Regions from separate parts of the Homo sapiens genome. Here region 2 is linked to region 1. Evidence: promoter capture Hi-C in 16 types of primary human blood cells and fetal thymus (Javierre and others, 2016). All regions are on one chromosome and are shown on one strand. The core of a region is centred on a gene start or on the middle of the fragment in contact, and the rest is flanking DNA. Distances in the headings are between cores, read along the strand shown. Region 1 holds the start of NSMCE3 (NSE3 component of SMC5/6 complex). Region 2 holds the start of LOC124903451 (a long non-coding RNA gene).

Region 1 (4,732 bases), core at 1,364-3,863:
GAAGTTCACTTTTTTCCCCGAGTTAAAAATATTTGCCTTATTTCAAGGTTAATTTGCAGCACCTCCCCCTAAAACAATTAACTTATTTGCCCACTGAATAAAACGTGTTGAATCTCTGCATTAAAAACAGCATCTGCTACACGTAATGGAGGAACACAATGGGACTATGAACTCTTCTAGTTCATTTAGTGCATAAAACTATTATATAGCTATTATTTTTCTCATTTTACAGATAAATTGAGATTCAGAGAGCTTAAAACCTACCCCCACAACCACCATGCTGACAAGTTAGCATGAGCCGTAATTCAAATTCAGTTTGCCAGACAGCCCCAAGACCCATACCCTTTTCCCTATACCTAACTCCCTAGGAGGTAGATCTTATGTCCTGCTCTTATGTTCTATGTGGGGCACACTCACCATACACGTTATATTTCCCCATACAATAGAGTGAGACTAGAGGACTATCTTTTGAACCAGGAATTGCTCTCCTAGGAATGATTTGGAAAAAAAGATAAAGAAAAGTTATATTTAAAAAGTGGCAGCTCCAGACCAAGGAGAATAAAAAATAAAAACATTAAAGAATAACAAATAAAATTCTCCACATCACGGACTAAAACCATTTTACAGGTCAAGAAACATCTGCATACAAACTAAGGAACCTATGTAAATTCATATACTAGTTATGGTGGGGCCAGGATCTCAACCCAGACAGTCCGATTCCCAAACAGGCATGGTTAATGGTTACGCTATTGTTTTATAAGCCTTTTTGAGATCCACAGTGAGAAATATATTTCACCTCATGATCCTGATTTTGTTTCACACAAAAGTGAAACAACTTCTACAAAACAGCATTGACCTTAATATGTAGCAAAAACTTTAAGATGTTGATTTCCAGTCATGAAATTCTCTCATGACCCACGATTTAAAAAACACACAATGCTTAAGTGCTTCAAAAATACAGTATTTATTGTAATAACTACAGTAGCAAGAAGAAAAAAACGAAGTGGAACTACGTGTTTAGCAGCAGAGCTGAATAATTATGAATATAAACAATTACTATTGGGAGAAAATACATTACACTCATTGCTTGGAACCATGAATAATACTTATATATGTACGAAATATAGAAAAATAAAATAGGTTAACATAATAAGGATATAGGCAATTATTTTTTTTAATTTTATAAAAACTTTTATTTTTCCTTACAAACTGGGGTAGTTAGGAGACCTGATAATAGCTTTTTTATTTTCTTGGCACCAAAGCAACTTACTTATGTGTTCCTTCTTGCATTATCTGTTCCAGATCATAGTCAAGTTTTCCAATTCGTTTTACTAAGCTAGCAAAATTTTTTATACCAAAAAGAGTAAAATCAAAACAAATGCTCCTTTGTTTATAGATGAAAATCTGGAGCAAAATAACACAACATTAAAAAAACAAAACTTTGCAAACACATCCTAAAGCTACACACATTGAAGCGTTTACAGCAATATGCTCCCTGGGTTCGTTCTCCCTTCCCCCAATCCTCTAAACTGTGCCTTTGGGTCTCAGACCCTTGTCCCGGGGGTCCCTCTGAATCCACCTTTCAAGAGGATGGAGCTGGGCCACTAGGCTGAGGTCTGGCCCTGTTCTCCTCATCTGCCAAAGCCTCACAGTACTGCGCTGGCCAGTCCTTGGGGTCTTGATTATGGACCTTGGCCACAAACTTAAGAACTTTCATCTTGCTGGTTTCCAGGTTGGTTCGCGGGCCCCACTGGAATTCGTAGTCGACGGGGTCGGTGTGGGGTATCCGCCGGTATTCCAGGTAACGCTGTCGCACAAAGTCCTCAGTAATGAGTTTCTTTGGATCTCCGAAAATTAAATGCTTCTTGGTGGGGTAGACCCCTAAGCGCCGCAGAAAGTCCCAGGCTTCAGTTTCCTTGATGGTGTTGCCCTTCATAAAGATGAGCCCTAAGACGATCATCAGGAGGCCCGTAGTGGGCGTGCCTTGGTCACCCCTCATCTCGGCATCCTCCTCCACAGGCTCCAGGGTGTTGATGAGGATGTAAGTGTTGCTCTTGGGTTCAAGTTCCACCAGCTTATACCCGAAGACGTACTGGAGGCGCTCGGCGGCCCGTTTGAAGAGGTCGGGGAAGATGTCCTTGTAGTCCCCGATGACGTGCTTCAGTATGTCGGCCCGCTTGATCGGAATCTTCTTCTGGTCTTTAATCAGCAAGAACTGCACCAGCTCGGACACTTTCAGCTCCAGCTGCTTCTGGCTCCTGGGCCCCACGGCGGGGGCGGCCTGGGCCCGGCGGGCGCCCTGAGGCGAGGGGCCCTGCGACCCCTGCGAGCCGCCCGGCCCGCGGGACGTGCTCGGGGCCTCCTCGGCAAAGCCGTCTCTGAGAACCCGGGCGTCTTCCCCGGCCCGCGAAGCCCCGGGGTTTCCGCTATGGCTCCAGTCTCTGTCCCTCTCGGCCTGGCCGCCAGAGCGGCCCCGGTTCCTCGGTTTTTGCAACATGTCTCCGGCGGCAGGTGCCGGCGCACACTCCGGTAGGCAAGCAGCCGCGGCGGGGATTGCGGGTCGGCGACCCGCTAACGCCGGTGCCTGGAGGCGCGCGCAGTGTCGGCTGAGACTGCGTGCTGCGTCATGAAGCCTGCGCCTTGCGTCAGGGCGGCTGGGCGGTGCGCCTGCGCGGCTGCGGCGGGTACCAAAAGGAACAGCGTTTTCCGTGCAGCCCTGCAGGTCCGGGCGATGATTTTTAGTATAGTGAAGTGTTGTTACCAAACCATGCAAACAGAGAGCGAGAACCGAAACTCCTAAACAAGTGTGTCGCTAAATTCAGACCACACAGGCTCAGGCAAGTTTTACAGACAGTATTATGAGTTTCTAAATCGGGAGCATTTGTAAACGGAAAGAATTCAGAGGATGAACGTGTGAGAAAAAAAAAAGGTGAAGAGGAAGGGCCGACCGTGGAAGTAAAGTAAAAACATTTATTTCTACACAAAATGTAGAAGGACATAAAAGACCCAGAGGGCTCTTAGTTTTCGTCCCTCCACCCAATTTCATACCCTCCATCCCACTGCCCCCAGTTACTTTCTCTAATGCCCCGTGGAGTCTGTTAAAAACCAAAGTCGGCTGCAGGCTTTCTGCGCAAGCAGGACTTCAGTTTCACTATTTCCGTATTTATATTCTCTGCATTAAACTCCTTTAGCTAGACAACTATGAGAAGACCACAAAAAACGTGTCAGTATTAGGTAAATGTTTTAGCTTGGTCACATGGGTTTATCTTTTGGAAAACAACTGCTTTCGTCACAACCACAATTTTAGCAGAAATGGGTAAGAGGAATGCTGCAAACAAACGTGCACTCTCAAGAGATTACTACTTAATTTGGGGCATCACTGATCAAGAATTGCAATAATGTGGAGCTCTTAAATTTCTTAATTCATAATATATTAGCTTTGAGGAAAAAAAAGAGAACACTGGGGGATTTATCTCTCATCTATGATGTGATATACAGTCTCTACTGTATATTTTAATTGTGCAACTCAAGTAGCCAAAATGAGTCATTTCATTAACTCAAACCATCAGCAGTCTGCTGCCATGACTTCTACAGATCTTAGCAAATTTGTTTCTTCTCTATTTACTTGCAAAGAAGAAACTGAATTTCCCTGTGTCTTTTTAAAGCTACCCAGAAAGTGGATAAACTCTTCAAAGAACCAAATTGAGTTCCTCTTTAATGCAAATATATTCAAAGGAAAGCAATTTAGAACACATTATCTGAGTAATAGCATCAAACACAACCTTATTAAAATTTTGTTAATTGTTAGTAGCATAACACTTTTGTTTGTAATTCAGTAGGAAAATGCAATCTGATAATGGCACTGGAACTGCAATAGTAAATGTAAAATCATATTCCATGAACTAATGCAAGTATGCTAAAATCTGGTATGCAATGAGTAATAACTTACTGTTCCACACAAGATGCAACTATATCCTCAGGCATCAATTTTAATGACAAAGGCCTACTATGAAAAACAAATATATTATCAAGGCATTCATTTTTTTACAATGAGAAAATTCATCTGCTTCAGTTTCCTTGCAAATTAAAATCTGGACTTAGGTTCATAGAAGCTTCCTGCCATCTAGAATTCTGCAAAAGGTCCCTACTGCAGGATGTGGATGTTGTATTGAGGGAATAGAGAGACCGTCTCATATTGTTTTATATTGTTTTATACTCAGTACCTGTTTTAAGAAAAAACAACAAGGAAGTAAAACCAAATACAGGCAGCCCAGCGCCAGGCCCAAAACCAGGCCTGGGCCTGCCTGGCCTAAACCCAGTAGTTAAAAATCAACTCATAACTTAGAAACCGATGTTATTCATAGATTCCAGACATTGTATAGAAGAACATTGTATAAAGAACAGAACTGCCCTGTTCTGTTTCTCTCTGACCACCGGTGCATGTAGCCCCTGTCACATACCGCCTGCTTGCTCTGATCAATCACGACCCTTTCATGTAAAATCTTTAGTGTTGTGAGCTCTTTAAAGGGACAGAAATTGTGCATTTGGGGAGCTCGGATTTTAAGGCAGTAGCTTGCCGATGCTCCCAGCTGAATAAAGCCCTTCCTTGTGCAACTCGGTGTCTGAGAGATTTTGTCTGCGGCTCGTCCTGCTACAGTGCCTTGAGTCAAAAAAGTTCAGTGACCGAGATATAAGGGGAAAGTGGAAAATTAGATAAAAGCTATTGTCAACA
Region 2 (4,732 bases), core at 1,456-3,955, 560 kb after region 1:
ATTTTTGTTTTAAAGTCATGTTGTAATTGTTTTGCTTTTGGACAAAGTATTATTTATTCTTTTAAGAATTGTGGGCCAGGCGTGGTGGCTCACGCCTGTAATCCCAGCACTTTGGGAGGCCGAGGCGAGCGGATCACGAGGTCAGGAGTTTGAGACCAGCCTGGCCAATATGGTGAAACTCCGTCTTTATTAAAAATACAAAAATTAGCCTGGTGTGGCGCGTGCCTGTAGTCCCAGCTACTCGGGAGGCTGAGGCAGAAGAATCACTTGAACCCAGGAGGCGGAGGTTGCAGTGAGTCCAGATCGTGCCACTGTACTCCAGCCTGGGCAACCAGCAAGACTCTGTCTCAAAAAAAAAAAAAAAAAAAAAAAAAAAAAAAAAAAATGGTGGCCAGGCGTAGTTGCTCACGTTTATAATCCCAGCACTTGGGGCCGTGCGCAGTGGCTCAAGCCTGTAATCCCAGCACTTGAGAGGCCAAGGCAGGCAGATCACTTGAGGTCAGGAGTTCGAAACCAGCCTGGCCGACATGGTGAAACCCCATCTCTACTAAAAATAGGAAAGTAGCCGGGCATGGTGACAGACGCCAGTAATGCCAGCTATTCAGGAGGCTGAGGCAGGAGAATCGCTTGAACCCGAGAGGCGGAGGTTGCAATGAGCTGAGATCATGCCATTGCACTCCAGCCTGGGCAACAAGAGCGAAACTCCGTCTCAAATCATCATCATCATCATCATCATCATCATCATCATCCCAGCACTTTGGGAGGCCAAGACCAGAGGATTCTTTGAGGCCAGGAGTTTGAGACCAGCCTGGGAAACAGTGAGACCCCATTAAAAAAAAAAAATTGTGATTAAATTTCTTCATATGCAAACACCATTTAAAAAGGTTTGGGAAGTATTTTTTAATTTTAAAAGGTGGTGATGAAAGACCTTTCACATTATCTTTACCATTTAAGAAGATGTGCAATTGCATAAGCTGCCTAGAACTAGGTGTGGTGTCTTTAATAGCACCTAAATCTAGAGACACTATCTACAAATGCACTGACATTTTTCACTTTTCCTTATTTGTCACTTTTACAAGTTGCCCAATGTGTAATTTAAATGCTAGATTGCAACTATTTGTCACTAATTAAAAATAGTTATATATTTAACAGTTTTATCTTTGCCATGGTTTAAAAAATGAAATCAAACAAAAATATTTCATCTTGAAAATATTATTCTTTAAAAATTATATTTAGTATTTCAGTGACTAATAGTATCACTTTAAAATTTTTCAGTGGTATTTTTAATATCTAAATTAAACTTCATAAAGTCTGTTCTTTAAATAAACAAGAGAAGGCTTTTATCATCTGTAAAATAAAGGTAAAACTGTTGCCAACAATTAAAAACAAAGCTTTATTCCTGCAGTTTATTTTTTAGGTAGGTGCTTTGACAACAAGTGGAAAGTATAAAGAATAATCTGAAAGAATCACCCATTTAACAATTAAAGAGTTTATCCATGGAACACCAAAAAAGTATTTTCTGACTTTTATGCTTACACACGCATGTCATCATAGCTCCTCTAGATCAATATGGGAAGAAATACAAGTTAATTAAGGATTCTCATTTAGAGTTACTATAATGTTTAACCACAAATCTCTTTCGATTGTACAGATTTATCTTATTTCTGATCATCTCTGCAACTGAACAGGAAACTAAAAAACCACAACACTTAAAAGACAACTTCCTGTGGGATTTTTGGTGTCTGCGGCTCAGAATGAAAAAAGCATTATGTGTGCAAAATCTTTACACATTTTAGATAGAACTACTTAATAAAACAGCCTTGACCAAATGAACAACTATATCCACACCTAATTTGTATATATGTATATGTATGGTTTTAATTGCAAAAAAGATCCTTAGGAAAGCATATTTATGTTATTTTTATATGAACTGTGAGTTTACGCTTGACAAAGAGGAAGTATTTATTTACGGTAGTGAAGCATTAGACAATCTCGATAATGTCAGAGAAGAGAATATATACAAAATATTAGAAGGAGAAGCACTTTATCAAGATGTTATAACAACCAAAAGTAATCCTGATTCCACTCCTATGCCATACCATTAAAGATTCTACAAATTGTTACAGAATTTTCCTCTGCCAATAAAGTCATGTAACAATGTTAAATGGGGGAAAGATTCTTTTAAGGCTCATAATGTTTCTAAATTTCATAGACCAGTAAAAATTTTAAAACGATCTTAGAGGTGCAATATAGGAGTACCAACTTTTTAATCTTATAAAGTAAAAACATTTTAAAACAAACATTATAAACTGTATATGTAAAGATAATTAAAATGGCAAATTTTATATTATGTACATATTACCACAGTTTAGAAATACAAAAAGAAAGCTATTACCAACACCATTTCATTTTTTTTTTTTTAAAAAGAAGACATAAACACTAAAAAACAAGTCTTTTTAAATTCAATTCAGTATACAGAAAGTTATTCCTCGAAAGAATTCCTCCTATGGGGCTACCCTTACCTCTGACTGGGGCTAAGGTGGAGTTTTCTTTTTTCAGGGTCCCAAATATTGCACAACCAGGCAGGTCGGAAGCTCCATAAATCCATGACTGGAATCCAGGCAGGCTGGCATACAGGCCTCTGGCTCATCCCTTAGCGGTTTGTCCTCCATTCTTCACAGCTTCTCCACTCTGATCTACACTTTCCTATGATTCCTTTAAGACTCCCTCCCCAGCCCAGGCAAAACATCTCATCTCATAATCCATAGAGAAAACAGACATTAAGGAATAGAAACTCCCTTCCCTTCCTGCCAAAACACTGACAAGTCTACCCTGGGCATCCGCTTTTCCTCTCCATCTTCCCCCCAAGGGTTATGAATTCCATCTTGGGGGGCTGACCCTCTCAGCTGTGTCCTCTTTCTGTATCATCTTCATCCTGTCCTTAGCTAATGAATTCTACCTCTGAGAATTCAAGCGTCTTCTAGTGTTTCCCATCTTAAACACAGTCAGGGCTCCCCAGGCTACCTACCAAGGTGTGCACTACTGCAGGTATACAAGACCCTAGGGCAGAAGGGCTTGCAGTTGGGGTTTAATGTGGTTGCTGTCTTGAATTGTAAGGACTTTCGTTTTGGATGTGTGTTTTGTAAGTGAAGGTCAATGGGAAAATGAGGCACACACTGGGGACTGGGGCCTCTGCTCTCACAGGGTCCTGTCGCCTCCTAGGAGGGTATCTGGGCTGCCCGCTCCCACAGCTCTTGATACCCCTGCTGGTCCTCTCCCACTCTGCTCCACTGCCACTGCTGAAAGGGATCCAAGCAAGGTGTGGGGTTTAAGTATGCATACCCACAGCATCTTGAGTGCACAAAAGCCCCAAACGGGCAGTGTCACTTTCTGTCTGGTGGCTGCCTGGCTGGAGGCAATCTCTTGGTGAGGGTGAGCCTTTGGCCCAGCCCGGATTCCAGATCCAGTCATGGAGGTTTAAGGATCCTTGGTGGTTACCATCTGCTGTGGGTTGGAGCAATAGGCCCGTGGCTCAAAGTCCCCAAACCCTGTCCCCAGCAGGGCATTCAGGTCAGGAGGTTTGCATGAATGTCATCACAGCAAGCTATCAGGCCCAGCACACATTAGTGGGACCCCAGGGCCCTCTGACCGTCTGTACTTGCTCTGATTACCCACCCCTAATCCTCTAGGGCCCCAGGGCCAGAGTGTTCTCTGGGCTGTTTCCCTGCCTGGGGATGGGATCCTCTCCCTCCTTCCAGCCTTCCCGAGTCTGGCTGTGTTCAGTCTCTTCTAGCCGGCTTGAGGCATCCTCCAGGGACAAGCCACAGAATATAAACTGTGTAATTTCAGTGACTCCACATGAGTTAAATATTCTGAAATTTGCATTTAAAACTGGTGTTGCACAATATAAACAGTAAAATTCATGCTGATAATTCACATTTTTAATTGTTCTTTACTCTGAACATGAAATAGTGCATAAAAAACATGACAAGTCAGGATGGAAACCCTGGAAGAAAAGAAAAAGCTTTAGGTGTACCTTTAATGACACTTTTTTCCTCCCTTTGAAACAAAGGGCCCCTAGATTATAGAGGCAGCTCTGAGTCCACCTCTTCCTGCAGATACTGTTCTGTCAGTTTGTGACAAGCTTCTCAAGAGTCGTCTGCCACAACTAGGTCTTTCTGTTGTGAATGCATGCCCAGGTCTTTTGGCATTCTTCCCCCTCCCCACTTTAATTTCACAAGTAATACTGGCATACAGTCCTTCTGTAAAAGATTCATGCAATTGATATATTTTTTAAAGTCCAACAGAACAACATCCACTGCATTCCCATTCCTATAATTACCCAGGAATACCATGATCTAAGCCTAACTAGAGAGTGTATTTCTAGATCACTTTCTGTATATTTATTTACGTGATATGTATGTGTGGAGACAGAGGAGAGAGAGAATATATGAATATAAGAATGTATGGTTTTGTGTGTTTTAAACTAATGATAGATAATATTTATATTCCATAACTTTTTAATGTAATATTTCACCTTGGAGATTATATCAAATAATGAAAATCTGCTTCATCATTTTAAAATGGCTGTTTAGTATTCCATAATATGGGTGCATTATAGTTTATCAAACTAAGATTATTTCTATTATAATGTCACAACAACAACAAAAAAATATATATATATCTTTTTGTATACATGTATAAGTATTTCTCTAGGAGAGACATCCAAAAA

Evidence for each region. The method cuts DNA at HindIII sites, captures the fragments that hold promoters and counts their contacts. A CHiCAGO score of 5 or more calls a contact.
Region 2: a fragment that was not itself captured here is called in contact with the fragment with the promoter of NSMCE3 in region 1 in 6 of 17 cell types (non-activated CD4 T cells, naive CD4 T cells, total CD4 T cells and 3 more); the score reaches 8.1 in non-activated CD4 T cells.

What each region holds. Positions count from the first base shown.
Region 1 is chr15:29,267,209-29,271,940 of GRCh38, forward strand. It overlaps NSMCE3 (NSE3 component of SMC5/6 complex), which reads right to left and starts at 2,614. Exons shown (of 1, transcript NM_138704.4): 1 at 1-2,614. The coding sequence starts at 2,497. The coding sequence ends at 1,583. All of the region lies in intron 2 of ENTREP2 (endosomal transmembrane epsin interactor 2), which reads right to left. RefSeq lists enhancers at 1,909-2,410, 2,411-2,910. The HindIII fragment of the contact is 8,019 bases long and covers 1-4,110 here.
Region 2 is chr15:29,823,733-29,828,464 of GRCh38, forward strand. LOC124903451 (a long non-coding RNA gene) reads left to right here and starts at 776. Exons shown (of 2, transcript XR_007064546.1): 1 at 776-884; 2 at 1,652-2,165. It also overlaps a transcript of TJP1 not described here. The HindIII fragment of the contact is 2,633 bases long and covers 1,390-4,022 here.